Linked DNA regions of Homo sapiens: region 2 is linked to region 1. Evidence: promoter capture Hi-C in 16 types of primary human blood cells and fetal thymus (Javierre and others, 2016). All regions are on one chromosome and are shown on one strand. Each heading gives the region's core, a stretch centred on a gene start or on the middle of the fragment in contact. The rest is flanking DNA. Distances are from core to core; before and after follow the strand shown.

Region 1 (6,815 bases), core at 1-2,500:
TTTTATTCAGATATTCTCTTGACGGCAAATTAGATGCAAGGAGCCATTCTAGATTTTCTTAGGGTACTGTATATCTGGAGAAAAGTCACCGATTTTTCCCTCACCCCAGCGGCCCTGAGAAAGCTCGGCCTCTCGGCTCCTCCCAAACGCCCCCAGCGCCAGCGGCAGACCTGCGACTGAGCCTTCAGATCCTTCAGGAGGTCCTGCACGTCCGACGCCTTGGCCTGGTTGCACGGCACCAGCGGCAGCTCCGCGGCGCAGCTGCGGTTGCGGCCGAGGCACAGGCGCTGCGCGAAGGCCGCGCTCCCGGTGGCCGCGCACTCGTAAAAGGCGCCCCCGAGCAGCGCCACGGCCACCCAGGTGAGGGGCGCGAGCGCGGCGGCCGCGCTGATTTGCGTGCACACCAGGGAGCCGCGCAGCGCCGATCCGCAACTCGCGCGGGCGCTGGAGCAGCATCCGGTGAGCAGGCGCCACGTGCGTGCGCTCAGCACGTAGCCCAGGAGGAAGAGCGCGAGCGCCGGCACCAGCAAGAAGACCAGGCCGTAGGGCAGGTTCCAGGCGGCGCTGCACGGGCACTGGAATGCCACGGCGGAGAAGATGCGCTCCCCGCCCGCCGTCAGCAGGGTCACCAGGCCGTAGCCCAAGGCGCTGTGGTGCTTGACGTGCAGGTCCAGCACCGCCCGAAACTTCTCCATGAGCCTCGTCCCCCGGGGCGTCGCGCACAGGCCCAGATCCTTCTGCCTCTTCGTTGTCCTGCTTGTCAAATGGTTTTGGTGGGATGGGGACCGGGGCTTTCCACTCTGCGAGAAGCAGCCTTTTTTTTTTTTTTTTTAAAGGGAAGAGGGCTTCTCAGACCTTCCTAAAGTTTCACTTTCTCATTTCAGCCACACCACCTCTGGTTAACAGAACCAGGCAAGCAAACACCCCCAGGACCTTGACTTCTCTGGCACCCACCCCATTCCAAAGGCAGAGGCACCAGTTATCTTCCTCCCCCAATTCAGGAACTCTGACAGAAGGTTGACCTTGTTCCTTTATTACCACCAATCTGACAACGAACCAGGAAACTAACCTTCTTGACCCACGGCCGCCAGTTGGAAAAACTGGGAAATACCAGATTTTCCTCTATTGCAGCCACCCTAGTTACTAAGCCAGATCACAGTAAAACCAAATAATTATCAAAAAACTGATTACTTACGGGAAACATTATTCAAGGACAAATTTCTGGTTCCTCTTCCATAAGCTAAATCAGCAAAGTCCAGCTCAAGTTCTGGTACTTCTATGATGGGCGGCACCCTTTCCATCTCCCTACCGGACAGAGCCACCAGCCTAGTTCACACTGACTCTTCTCTCCTCTGCCTGATCTCCTTCAGGACATTAGACCAAATATACTGTATTGATTTACTCGTCAATACAATGTTCTTTTCTTTCAGATATGTCATAACACTGTCAATGCCTGGAGGAGAGTAAAATTCTGACTCTGACCACCAAGCTGATCTGCACAGAAGGGGATACATGATTATTCAAAGAATGCTAGTTGAACCCAAAATTTCAAACTGCAGCTACATCTATCTAATGTTGTTTCCTCCACCTTCAGTTTTCTCAAGCAGCGTTGTTCTGACACAAACACTGTAACCACTTTTGTGATATTGAGCCTTACTCTGTGTGACTCCAGACTGAGCTGAGGTGTGCTTGAAAGAACATGGGCTTTGAAGTCAAGTGCATCTTGTCTGTGGTGTGTTTAACAAGTATGCCCCTCTGAGACACAGCATCCTTATTTGTAAAAGAAGGATAATAGTGCCCACTTTTCAAGATTACTGACATGAGTAGATTGAGTAGCATATGTAAAGTGCCTTTACATATAGGATATGTCTGTTAAATGAATGATCAGTGTGAGAGTTTTCCCCTTAAAATGCAATTTGGGGAATAGACAACAAATAATTACATTGTACATAACCTAAGAATCTTGATGAATACTGAATTTTGAATTTTAAACGAGGATCAATTCAGTGGATAGTATTAAGTGACTCAATGACTCTGCTACCTTAAGAGAATTGGTGTACACCTTAGCTGTCTGCTTCACCACAAGGAGAGTATCTGGATATGGAGCTTGGGTGGGCAGTTCACAATGAAATGGTTCTTATTGGTGCCCATCCACCAGGCTTGCCTTATTTTATCTGGAAAGAATAGGTAGCCCATGGAACCAAGTGAATTTTTAGAGAATGGACAAGAAATGTATTATTCTTTTCTTAGTCCAACTTGCCTTCTTAACTACTCCCTCTCCAACACCACCAGCAGGGTGCCTAGCGTAGTGCCAAAAGCTGTCATTCCATAGTGATGTGGTAAATAGACATCTTTTTTCTATGTGTTTAGGGGCCAGCCCCAGATGAGGGTCTTCATGGTCATGCAGGAAAGTTGGGGCCCTCTTCTCTGAGATTAGACCAGATACTGCTAGGCTTCCTGTCAACTTGCAGCAAAGTTGCGTGTTTGAAGCGAATCACTTCTGCTCTGACTGTTATCTTTGTAATTTGTCATCTCCCAAGATAAATTTCTTCCCCTGTGCCTTGAGTAACTCTCCTCTTACTGCTGGACTCTTCTTCACCTCTACCATAATACTCTAAGATGTGTCCTCTCTCGTCCACCCTTTCCCATATTCCATCATGCAGAAACATCACTATATCCACAACCTTTGTGCAGATGGCTTTATCCAAATCTCCCCTAACCGAAACCTAATAAAAATGCATCCTTCTGTCTTCTTGAGTGAGATTAATTTATTCTCCCACATCTCTCAAACCAAGAGGGATGGCTGGCATTTTCCTGGTTACCTGCTGATAGCCATACCAGGGTTTTACCACTGTGCTATAATAGTTTATCATCCACTGAGGCTCAATCTAATCAGCACCATCTCCTCCTTCACCTCATTCCTATGGTCTGTTTTCATTCCCTTCATTTTTTAAGACTCTAATGAAGTCCATCACCTTCTCTTCCCTGGCTTCTGTTATTTAGTCAAGGATTTGTTTGAAATATGTTTACTTACAGAAACTTTTATCTATCAGCCCCCTTCCCCAACTAGATTAATTCATTTGTTAACCAGTTATTAATTAGTTCATTTGTTCATTCAGTCATTCATTTAAATGTTTAATAAGTACTCAGAATATGTCAAGTACCTATCAAAAGTGCCTGGTATTGCTGGATACAACAAGGAAGAAGACACAGGTATCCTGCCGTCTTTGAACTTACAGTAGAGATGATATAGGAAATGGAGAGGAGGGGTCCTAAAGATTACGCACAGGATAAATTGGAGTTAGAGAGTGTCCTGAAAGAGCCTCTGTGAGAAACTGACATTTAATCTGAATGAGTCTGGAGTACAAAGGAGCTTGGTTAGAAAGAAGGCTAGAGTGATGGGAGCATTGAGAATGACAGGCAAGTTGGCACATCATGAGGCCAAAGCTGCAAGTGGAAGGTCAGGTTTAGGTGCTTCACAGACCAGAATATGTAGTCTGCAATTCTGCCTCTGAAACTTTCACAGACTGAGCTGCATCCTGACATATTGTCTTGTCAGCTTGTGTCTCTAAACACCACCTCCTGGGTTTGCTACTTCTGTGCTCTCCCAAACCCAACTCTCCCAGATGCAATGATCATTCAGAACTTAGTACAGGTTTCTATAATTGAGAGTCCAGGTTTTGCCTGCCAGCCTGAATGTTTCCCCAGCACTTGGTCTTGAGTCTAGTACCCTGCCATCCACTCCCACCACCACTGGATTGACTGGTTCTAGCTCTGGGTCTATTGAAGATTCCCAGCCCTCCATACCCAGGTCTGTTCTGAGAGGATATTGCTCAGAAGTTCAGCCCTTAGTGGAAATTGACTAACACCCTAATGGTGTGGAGAGGTAGACTAAATAATATTTTAAATGTCTTTACACTTTTGAAAGCCTGTGATTTGCTTCAGCTGTTAAGAAATGAGTAGTAGAATGTCATCGGTAAAGCCTGAGTCCTGTCCTCTTGCTCTCCTCCCTGGACAGTATGAGCTTCACCACTTGCTCCACCTTCTCCACCAACTACCATTCCCTGGGCTCTGTCCAGACACCCAGCTTCATCGCCCAGCTGGTCAGCAGTGCAGCCAGTGTCTATGCAGGCACCCAGGACTCTGGTTCCCGGATCTCTGTGTCCCGCTCCACCAGCTTCTGGGGCGGCATGGGATCCGGGGGCCTGGCTGCAGGGATGGCCAGGGGTCTGGCAGGGATAGCAGGCATCCAGAATGAGAAGGAGACCATGCAAAGCCTGAACGACTGTCTGGCCTCCTACCTGGACAGAGTGAGGAGCCTGGAGACCGAGAACTGGAAGCTGGAGAGCAAAATCCGGGAGCACCTGGGGAAGAAGGGACCCCAGGCCAGAGACTGGAGCCATTACTTCATGACCATCAGGACCTGAGGGCTCAGATCTTCACAAATACTGTGGACAATGCCCGCATCGTTCTGCAAATCAATGCCTGTTTTGCTGCTGATGACTTCAGTGTCAAGTATGAGACAGAGCTGCCCATGTGCCAGTCTGTGGAGAGCGACATCCATGGGGTCCACAAGGTCATTGATGACACCAATGTCACTCGGCTGCAGCTGGAGACAGAGATCGAGGCTCTCAAAAAGCAGCTGCTCTTCATGAAGAACCATGAAGAGGAAGTAAAGGCCTACAAGCCCAGACTGCCAGCTCTGGGCTGACCGTGGAGGTAGATGCCCCCAAATCTCAGGACCTTGCCAAGATCATGGAAGACATCTGGGCCCAATATGACGAGCTGGCTCGGAAGAACTAAGAGGAGCTGGACAAGTACTGGTCTCAGCAGATTGAGGTGAGCACCACAGTGGCCACCACTCAGTCCACCGAGGTTGGAGCTGCTGAGATGACGCTCACAGAGCTGAGATGTACAATCCATTCCTTGGAGATCGACCTGGACTCCATGAGAAATCTGAAGGCCGCTTGGAAAGCAGCCTGAGGGAGGTGGAGGCCTGCTATGCCCTGCAGATGGAACAGCTCAATGGGATCCTGCTGCACCTGGAGTCAGAGCTGGCACAGACCCAGGCAGAGGGACAGCACTAGGCCCAGCAGTACGAGGCCCTGCTGGACATCAAAGTCAAGCTGGAGACTCAGATTGCCACCTACCAATGCCTGCTGGAAGATGGCGAGGACTTCAATCTTGGTGATGCCCTGGACAACAGCAACTCCATGCAAACCATCCAAAAGACACCACCCGCCCAATAGTGGATGGCGAAGTGGTGTCTGAGACCAATGACACCAAAGTTCTGAGACATTAAGCCAGCAGAAGTAGGGGACCCTTCGAGGAGCAGGAGGCCAATAAAAAGTTCAGAGGTCAAAAATAAAAAATAAAAAGAAATGAGTAGTAGAGTCTCACATTAAGCACAGTGTAAAGCCAATGGTTATGGGTTCCCTTTGGTTTCCTTTAACTGTAGTACTTTTTCAGCACTATCATTTTCAATGTCAGGAATGGGTTTCAGAAACCACAGAACATTTCTTGGAAAAGGAACTTCTTGAAAGGAAATGCACATACACACTGTGAATCTGAAAGTGTCTTGCAATTGTCTTCATGTGTGCTAGTTCTCAAACATTGTTCTCTGCGGCTCTCATAAGAATACAGACTAATGGCATGACCCTGCTTGGAATATGACTGCTGGATTCTTATACAACATTAATCTTGGCCCCAAGACCCTCCAAAAAGAGTAAAATCAAATTAATATTCAAATATCTTAGGTAACATATGCAAGAAGAAATGCCAGATGCCAAATTAAAAAGTTAGTTTACAAAATCTGACACTCCTAGTCTTAAAGGGAATATCTTTCTGAATGTTAAAATTTGTGGATATATTGCTCATGTTAGATAACATATTTGAAAATCTGGAACATGCTGTTGTCTTCAGATATTTTAAACGTTTATAAAAGTTTTTTCCAATGGAAGTGTAAAGCAGAAGGAGGGAAAGATCAGACCCTTTCCTTGGCACAGAGATGTCATTTGTTAAATGGCAATCCCATGACATTTCAAAAAAGCCTTTTAAAGATTTTTATTCCTCTCTTAGTGTGAATTTCCTAAGCCTATCACAAAAGTTTAAGTACTTATTGATTAACACACTAATTTTTGTTCTTGCAGCAGATAGTTATTTTAACTCTGTTAAAAGAAAAAACATAGCCAAATTAAATCTAACAGAGTTTAATTGAGCAAAGAATGATTCATGAATCTGGTAGCCTCTTGAGCCAGAGTAGGCTCAGAGAGAATCCCGTGGAAGATTTATAGACAGAAAAAGGAAAGTGACGTACAGAAAATGGAAGTGAGGTATAGAAACAGCCTGATTGGTTACAGCTTGGCATTTACCTTCTTTGAACACAGTTTGAACAGTTGACCCCCTTTGATTGGCCAAAACTTGTTGACTGGCACAACAGTAGGTTACAGTCTGCTTACATTACAGAGAAACCTTTAGGCTGAACTTAAGATACGTAAGGAGGCTGCTTTAGGATAAATTTGATTTAACAACTTAGAGAAACTAGATATGGCCAAGTCTTTGTTGACATCATCGTTGCTACCATTGTTGTTGTCACCGCCATCATCAATATCATCTGATACACTGAGGCTATTAAAGGTCCTAGTTAGTTTTCCTTCTGTGCTTTTTACGACCTATGTCTATTAGCAGTTTTGGTGAAACAATGTTTTCTCATTGTCTTAGTCTTTCAGTCTGCTATAACAAAATACCTTAGACTAGGTAATTTATAAACAAAAAATTATTTCTCACAGTACTGAAGGCTGAGAAGTCCAAGATCA
Region 2 (6,815 bases), core at 3,100-5,599, 130 kb after region 1:
AATTTGATGTTACCTTTTTTTTTTTTTTTTGAGATGGAGTTTTGCTCTTGTTGCCCAGGCTGGAGTGCAATGGCATGATCTCAGCTCATTGCAACCTCCGCCTCCCAGGTTCAAGCAATTCTCCTGCCTCAGCCTCCCGAGTAGCTGGGACTACAAGCATGCGCTACCATGCCTGGCTAATTTTGTATTTTCAGTAGAGACGGGTTTTCTGCATGTTGGTCAGGCTGGTCTTGAACTCCCAACCTTGGCTGATCCGCCTGCCTCGGCCTCCCAAAGTGCTGGGATTACAGGCGTGAGCCACTGCGCCCGGCCTACTTTTTTCTTTAAAACATGCAAGCAAATACATTAGACCATGTATCACTCAGGTAGGTGGCATTATAGTACTAATTTTTAAATAATACTGCCTTATCTTTAACACAACTCTTACAAATTATAACTGTTACATTCAGATGAGCAAGACTTTGGCTAAAATTAACTGTATCACATTATCTAGCATTCTGTAGGCTTGCAGACTAAATGCTAGATAACTATTTAGATTCTGTCTATGTCATCAAGAACTTTTTCAATAGGAGTGTATCTTCTGTTCATATACTGCAAGATATATATTTTAAATTCTTCTGTAAAACAGATTTACATTAAATGTAGTCAAAATAAAATTCTTCCTGGATTCCAAAGGAGTTGATATCTGACTACAAATGGACATCAGGGACATTCACATGCTGAACATAATTCTGAAAGAGATGTTTATGACTAAGTGCTGTTACAGTTTATGGGAATCCATTGTTTTGGACCAGCCTTCTGCACCAGACTCCCACAGACCAGACCAGACCAAAATAGTGTCACTCATGCAAAGTGCCTCATAATCAAACTGAACTTTAAGGAAGCTGATAGAGCCCCAAACAGAGCAGTTTTTCCTGAAAACAGGAGATTCACAGCAACTAGTCAAAGAGCTCAATCTTCCTAAGTCAGCATAATAAAGAGGTCTTCTCTGTTTTAACTCTTACAAGAAAAGTGACTTGTAGTAACTTATGCTATCAATGCACTTTTATTTATCGTTCTGTTGTCTTATTCCCACCTTACAAAAACCAACCATTCTATCATATCCAGTGGATCACTACTTCTGTTTCATAGAATGAAGTGTTGCCTGATTCTAGAATCACAAATAAAAGCCAATTAGATCTTCAAACTAAATTTGTTGTATTTTGTCTTTAACAGTACAATCAAACAAAGGAGAAGAAAATATCTTTTTTTAAAATTTAACTTTTAAGTTTAGGGGTACAAGTACAGTTTTGTTACATAGGTAAACATGTCATGGGGGTTTGTTGTACAGATTTTTTTGTCACCCAGGTATTAAGCCTAGTACTCATGAGTTATTTTTCCTAACACTCTCTCTCTTCCCACCCTCCACCCTTGCATAGACTCCAGTGTGTGTTGTTCCCCTCTTTGTGTCTATATGGTTTCATCATTTAGCTCCCACTTACAAGTGAGAACATGTGGTATTTAGCTTTCTCTTTCTGTGTTAGTTTGATAAGGATAATGGCCTCTAGCTCCATCCATGTCCCTGCAAAGGACATGATCTTGTCCCTTTTTATGGCTGCATAGTATTCCATGTTGTATATATACCACATTTTCTTTATCAAATCTATCACTGATGGGCATTTAGGTTGATTCCATGTCTTTGCTATTGTGAATAGTGCTGCAATGAACATACATGTGCATGTGTCTTTGTAACAGAGTGATTTACATTCCTTTGAGTATATATACAGTAATGAGGCCAATGGTATTTCTGTCTTTAGGTCTTTGAGGAATTGCCACACTGTCTTCCACAATGGTTGAACTAATTTACACTTCCACCAACAGTGGGAGGTTCCTTCTTTGCAACTTTGTCAGCATCTGTTATATTTTGACTTTTTAATAGCCATTCTGACTGGTGTGAGATGGTATTTCCTGTGGTTTTGATTTGCATTTCTGTAATGATCATTGATGTTGGGCTTTTTTTCATCATTGTTGGCTGCACTCATGTCTTTTGAAAAGTCTGTTCATATCCTTTGCCAACTTTTTAATGGTTTCTTTTTTCTTGTAAATTTGTTTAAGTTCCTCAAGATGGAGTAAAGACTTAAATGGAAAACTCAAAGCTATAAAAACTCTGGAAGATAACCTAGGCAATACCATTCTGGACGTAGGAATGGGCAAAGATTTCATGATGAAGATGCCAAAAGCAATTGCAATGAAGGCAAAAAAAATAAATAACAAATGGGATCTAGCAAGGAAACTATTAAGAGTGAGCAGACAACCTACAGAATGGGAGAAAATTTTCGAATACAGTATTTTTGGCAAAGAGAGCCTAATTCTCTGGATATAGTTTGTGAAATGTGGGCTTTGCGTGAATTAAGAGACCAACAGGGAGTAGAATTATTTGGGAATCACTTCAAATGGAAAAATAAGGTAGAATCCTTTATCTTTCAGAATATGATTTGACCTTAACTCTGCTAGAAGGTAGCAGAGTGATTTCAAGCTTTCTTTAAAAGGGTTGAAATGGGGACTTGCCTACTCTGAGTCAAAGCCTTGAGAATAAAATCTCATCTAGTCATTCAACAGACAATTGTGTGATATGCTGAAGATACAGAGACACAAAGATAAGAACTTGTCCTCAAGAATATTATAATCTAATGGTGGGAAACAAATGTGTAAATAGATTAGTACGACAATGTTCACTAAGTACAATACATTAAAATAAAGCATCTAGGAGAGAGATCAGTATAGCAAAGAGTCAAACTTCTTTCACATATTGCAATATTTTGGAGGGTTGTTTTTGAGAGGGGTTCTTGCTCTGTCACCCAGGCCGGAGTGGAGTGGTGCATTCATGGCTCACTGCAGCCTCGATCTCCTGGACTCAAGAATTGCAATATTTTGTAAACTGCATTGTCTTACCTCTGAGTAGGGAGCAAAAGGCATCAAGTAATGTAATTAAAGTGATATTTTTAAATTTAAAGAGAAATTTATAAATGTATAAGGAAAAACAGGATATATTTTTAAAGGATGCTTTTATAAACATGGTGAAAGAATATGTGGTTGAGAATGAGAAAGAGCTTGTTTAGATGGTGGCTCTTCCACTTAGTAGATTCATGGATTTATTAAAAATCTTTCTCTTTCTGAAGCCTCACTTTTCTCATCTGTAAAGTAGATATGTACATACCATAAAGATCAGTTGAGACATGCTATGGTTTGAAAATCCCCTCTAAAACTCATGTTGAAAATTAATTGCCAATGTAACGGTATTGGGAGATGGGGAGTTTACAAAGTGATTAAGTCATGGGGGCACTTTCTTCATGGATTGTCATTATCACAGAAGTGAGTTATCTCAGGAGTTTGGCCCTCTTTTTCTCTGTTTCATGCTCTCACTCTCTCTCACATTGTCTCACTATGTGATGCCTTCCATCATGTTATGATACAACAAGAATGCCCTCACCAAATATGGTCCCTCAACCTTGGACTTCCCAGCCTCCAGAACCATGAGCCAAATAAATCTCTTTTCTTTATAAATCACCAAGTCTATGGTACTCTGTTATGCAGCAGAAAATGGACTAAGACAAGACAAAAAATAGGTCAGTGCTTTCCACTGGGATGCATGAATTTATGTGAATATATGTAAATTCTATTCCGTTTTCATTGAAAATTTTATCCTGAGGAAGTACATTTACCAATTTTCACATTAGCAGTGAATAAGAATTCCTAGTGCTCTATATTTTCTCCCACAGTTGAGATTATCAGGATTCTTAAGTTTAGCTATTCTAAAGGAAGTCTGATGGTATATAACTGTGGTTTTAATTTGCATTTTCCTGATTACTAAAGAAATCAAAGACCTTTTCTTATACTTGCTGGCAATTGGGGTATCTATTTTTGTGAAATGCCTGAAGTCTTTTTGTCCATTTTTCATTGGATTTTTTTATATATTGATTTACTTTGTAGATGTACTTTATACCAGGCACAAGACTTGCATATGTAATATATTTTACCATGTAGCTTGACTTTTTACCAATTAAAGGTGTCTTTTCATAAACTGAGGCTCTTAATTTTAACTCTAAGTATCAGTCTTTTCCTTTACTGTAAGTACTTTTTTGTGTGTGTCCTGCTTAATATATAAACACTTAATTTATTTCAAATGTGTCTTTTTTCTAAACTCCAATTTGTTCCACTGATTTTTGTCTATTCTTACCCCAATACTGTACTATCCTAATTATCACAGACATAAGTATTAATATCCAGTAGAGCAACTCCTCTTACCTTTTCCCTCCTATTCAAGAGTGTCTTGTCTATACCTGTTTCTCTTAATTTTTTTTTCATATTTTAAAGAATTGAGTTTCAAACTCCTTTTCTCCCTGTGTCTCTCTTACACACACACACACACACAAACCAACTGGGATTTTGATTTGAATTTCTTTGGATCTAAAGCTCAGTTTCAGGAAAATTAACATTTTAAAAATGCTGAGTCTTCCAATATATAAATGTAGTACAAGTATTCATTGATTTGTCTTTTTTAATGTCTCTTGGGAATGTTTTATGTTTCTTTTACAACTGCTAAAATATTTATTTTTAGGTTTTAAATATTTTTGATCCTATTATGATTATTTTCAGTTTTATTTTCTGTTGTTGCTCATCATAGAAATGAAATTTTTAAAATCTACAAGTCGAGATTAGAATTGAGTTTAACAAGGTTGCTGGGATACAATTTTATTAAACTCAATTCTAAGAACTATCTGTAGAGTCTTTGAGTTTTTTTATATATATAGTCTTAGCAAATAATGGCAGTTTTACTTGTTCTTTTTCTTTTAGATGGAGTCTCACTCTGTTGCCAGGCTGGAGTGCAGTGATACCATCTTGGCCCACTGCAACCTCCGCCTCTCGGGTTCAAACAATTCTACTGCCTCAGCCTCCCAAGTAGGTGGGACTACAGGTGCGTGCCACCATGCCCAGCTAATTTTTGTATTTTTAGTAGAGACAGGGTTTCACCATGTTGGCCATGATGGTCTCGATTCCCTGACTTCGTGATCTGCTTGCCTCTGCCTCCCAAAGTGCTGGGACTACAGGCGTGAGCCACTGTGCCCGGCCTACTTGTTCTTTTCAATTCTTCTTCCTTACCACACTAATTAGGACTTTCAGTGGCAGGTAGCCTAGAAATGTTGGTAACTATTGATATGGTTTGGCTCTGTCCCCGCCCAGAACCTCATCTTGAATTGTAATCCGAATTGTAATCCCCATATATTGGGGGGTTACCTCGTGGGAGGTGATTAGATCATAGGGGCATTTCCCCCATGCTGTTCTCATGATAGTGAGTGACTTCTCATGAGATCTGATGGTTTTATAAGGGGCTTTTCCCCACTTCGCAGTGCACTTCTCCTTGCTGTCACCATGTGAAGAAGGATGTGTTTGCTTTCTCTTCCACCATGATTGTAAGTTTCATGAGGCCTCCCCAGCCCTGCAGAACTGTGAGTCAATTAAATCTCTTTCCTTTATAAATTACCCAGTCTTGGGTATTTCATCATAGCAGCAAGAGAATGAACTAATACAACTATTATCTTATTCCTGATCACAGAAAGAAAGTTTTCAGTATTTCTATGGTGTTTATTATTGGTGTTTTGTAGATACCCTGTATTTGATTAAAGAAGCTCTCTTCTATTCTTCGTTTGCCCAAAGATGTATTTTAATCATAAATAGATGCTTACTTTAACCAACTGCTTTTCTGCATCTAGTACAATTATCATATAATTTTTTCCTTTATTCTGTTAATGTCATAAATTCTCAGTTTTCTAATATTAAACTAACATTGCATAATTGCAACAAACTCAACTTGTGACATTTCATATATACATGTTGTATGGTTATCTAATATTAAGAATTTAAGCATATCTGTTCATGATTGAGGTTGCCTGCAATTTTTCCTCATCATTTAATGTTCATGTTCTTATATCAAAGTTGTGTTGACTTTATAAGCTAGGTTGGAGAACATCTTTGTTTTTCTGTTTTCTGAAAAGGCATAAAATCAGGGTATTTGCTAGACTGGAAGGTTTAAAATGAGTGATTCAGCTTTTTTGAGTCATAAGGAGATAGTCATAATTTCTATTTCATCATGTTGAGATTTATGCAGTTGTATTTTTTGTATTTTTCTTATCCTACTAAGCTTATAATAAAATAATCAAAACATCAAATATATTAACTAGAAATAGTTATTACCAAAATCGGTGGTAGTTGAGAGTTGTATTTAAGGGTAGCTCTTTCTATTTCTTGATTATTAAGAGTTCCCTTATTAAAATAAATTGCTTTTTGGCATAATTGTCAAAAACATATGTAATACCAAAAAGATTAAAAATGCATTTTGTTTTGAGTTAAAATGAATAGACGCATGCAGTGGCATAGCTAGGTACTTGATGCCTGAAAGGGACCATTTTTAATACGCCTTCCTCTGTATGATAAAAGTATTTTCAGTAATAATTTTGAAATGAAACAAATAATAATTATGTCCAGAAAAGAAATGCAGGCAGTGAAAGTTTTCATTTATTCAATTTTGACTATGTAATCATGCTAATAATAAATTAATAAAGTATATATTTTAGCTGAAAATGCAAAAAGTTAAGGTTTAATACTTTTTAAGTACATTAGTATGGGCCAGGCGCAGTGGCTCACGCCTGTAATCCCAGCACTTTGGGAGGCCGAGGCAGGTGGATCACCTGAGGTTGGGAGTTCAAGGCCAGCCTGGCCAATATGATGAAACCCCATCTCTACTAAAAATACAAAAAATCAGCTGGGCGTGATGGTAG

The links. The method cuts DNA at HindIII sites, captures the fragments that hold promoters and counts their contacts. A CHiCAGO score of 5 or more calls a contact.
Region 2: a fragment that was not itself captured here is called in contact with the fragment with the promoter of CALHM6 in region 1 in 13 of 17 cell types (neutrophils, total B cells, naive B cells and 10 more); the score reaches 21.8 in neutrophils.

What each region holds. Positions count from the first base shown.
Region 1 is chr6:116,455,810-116,462,624 of GRCh38, reverse strand. CALHM6 (calcium homeostasis modulator family member 6) reads right to left here and starts at 1,250. Exons shown (of 3, transcript NM_001010919.3): 1 at 1,196-1,250; 2 at 171-753. The coding sequence starts at 695. CALHM6-AS1 (CALHM6 antisense RNA 1) reads left to right here. Exons shown (of 2, transcript NR_174951.1): 2 at 1,431-2,147. It also overlaps the pseudogene KRT18P22. RefSeq lists a silencer at 185-264 and enhancers at 645-724, 735-844. The HindIII fragment of the contact is 9,761 bases long and covers 1-6,815 here.
Region 2 is chr6:116,329,971-116,336,785 of GRCh38, reverse strand. It overlaps a transcript of DSE not described here. Among named protein-coding and RNA genes, the nearest start is that of DSE, 38 kb to the left of the region's middle. The HindIII fragment of the contact is 3,663 bases long and covers 2,518-6,180 here.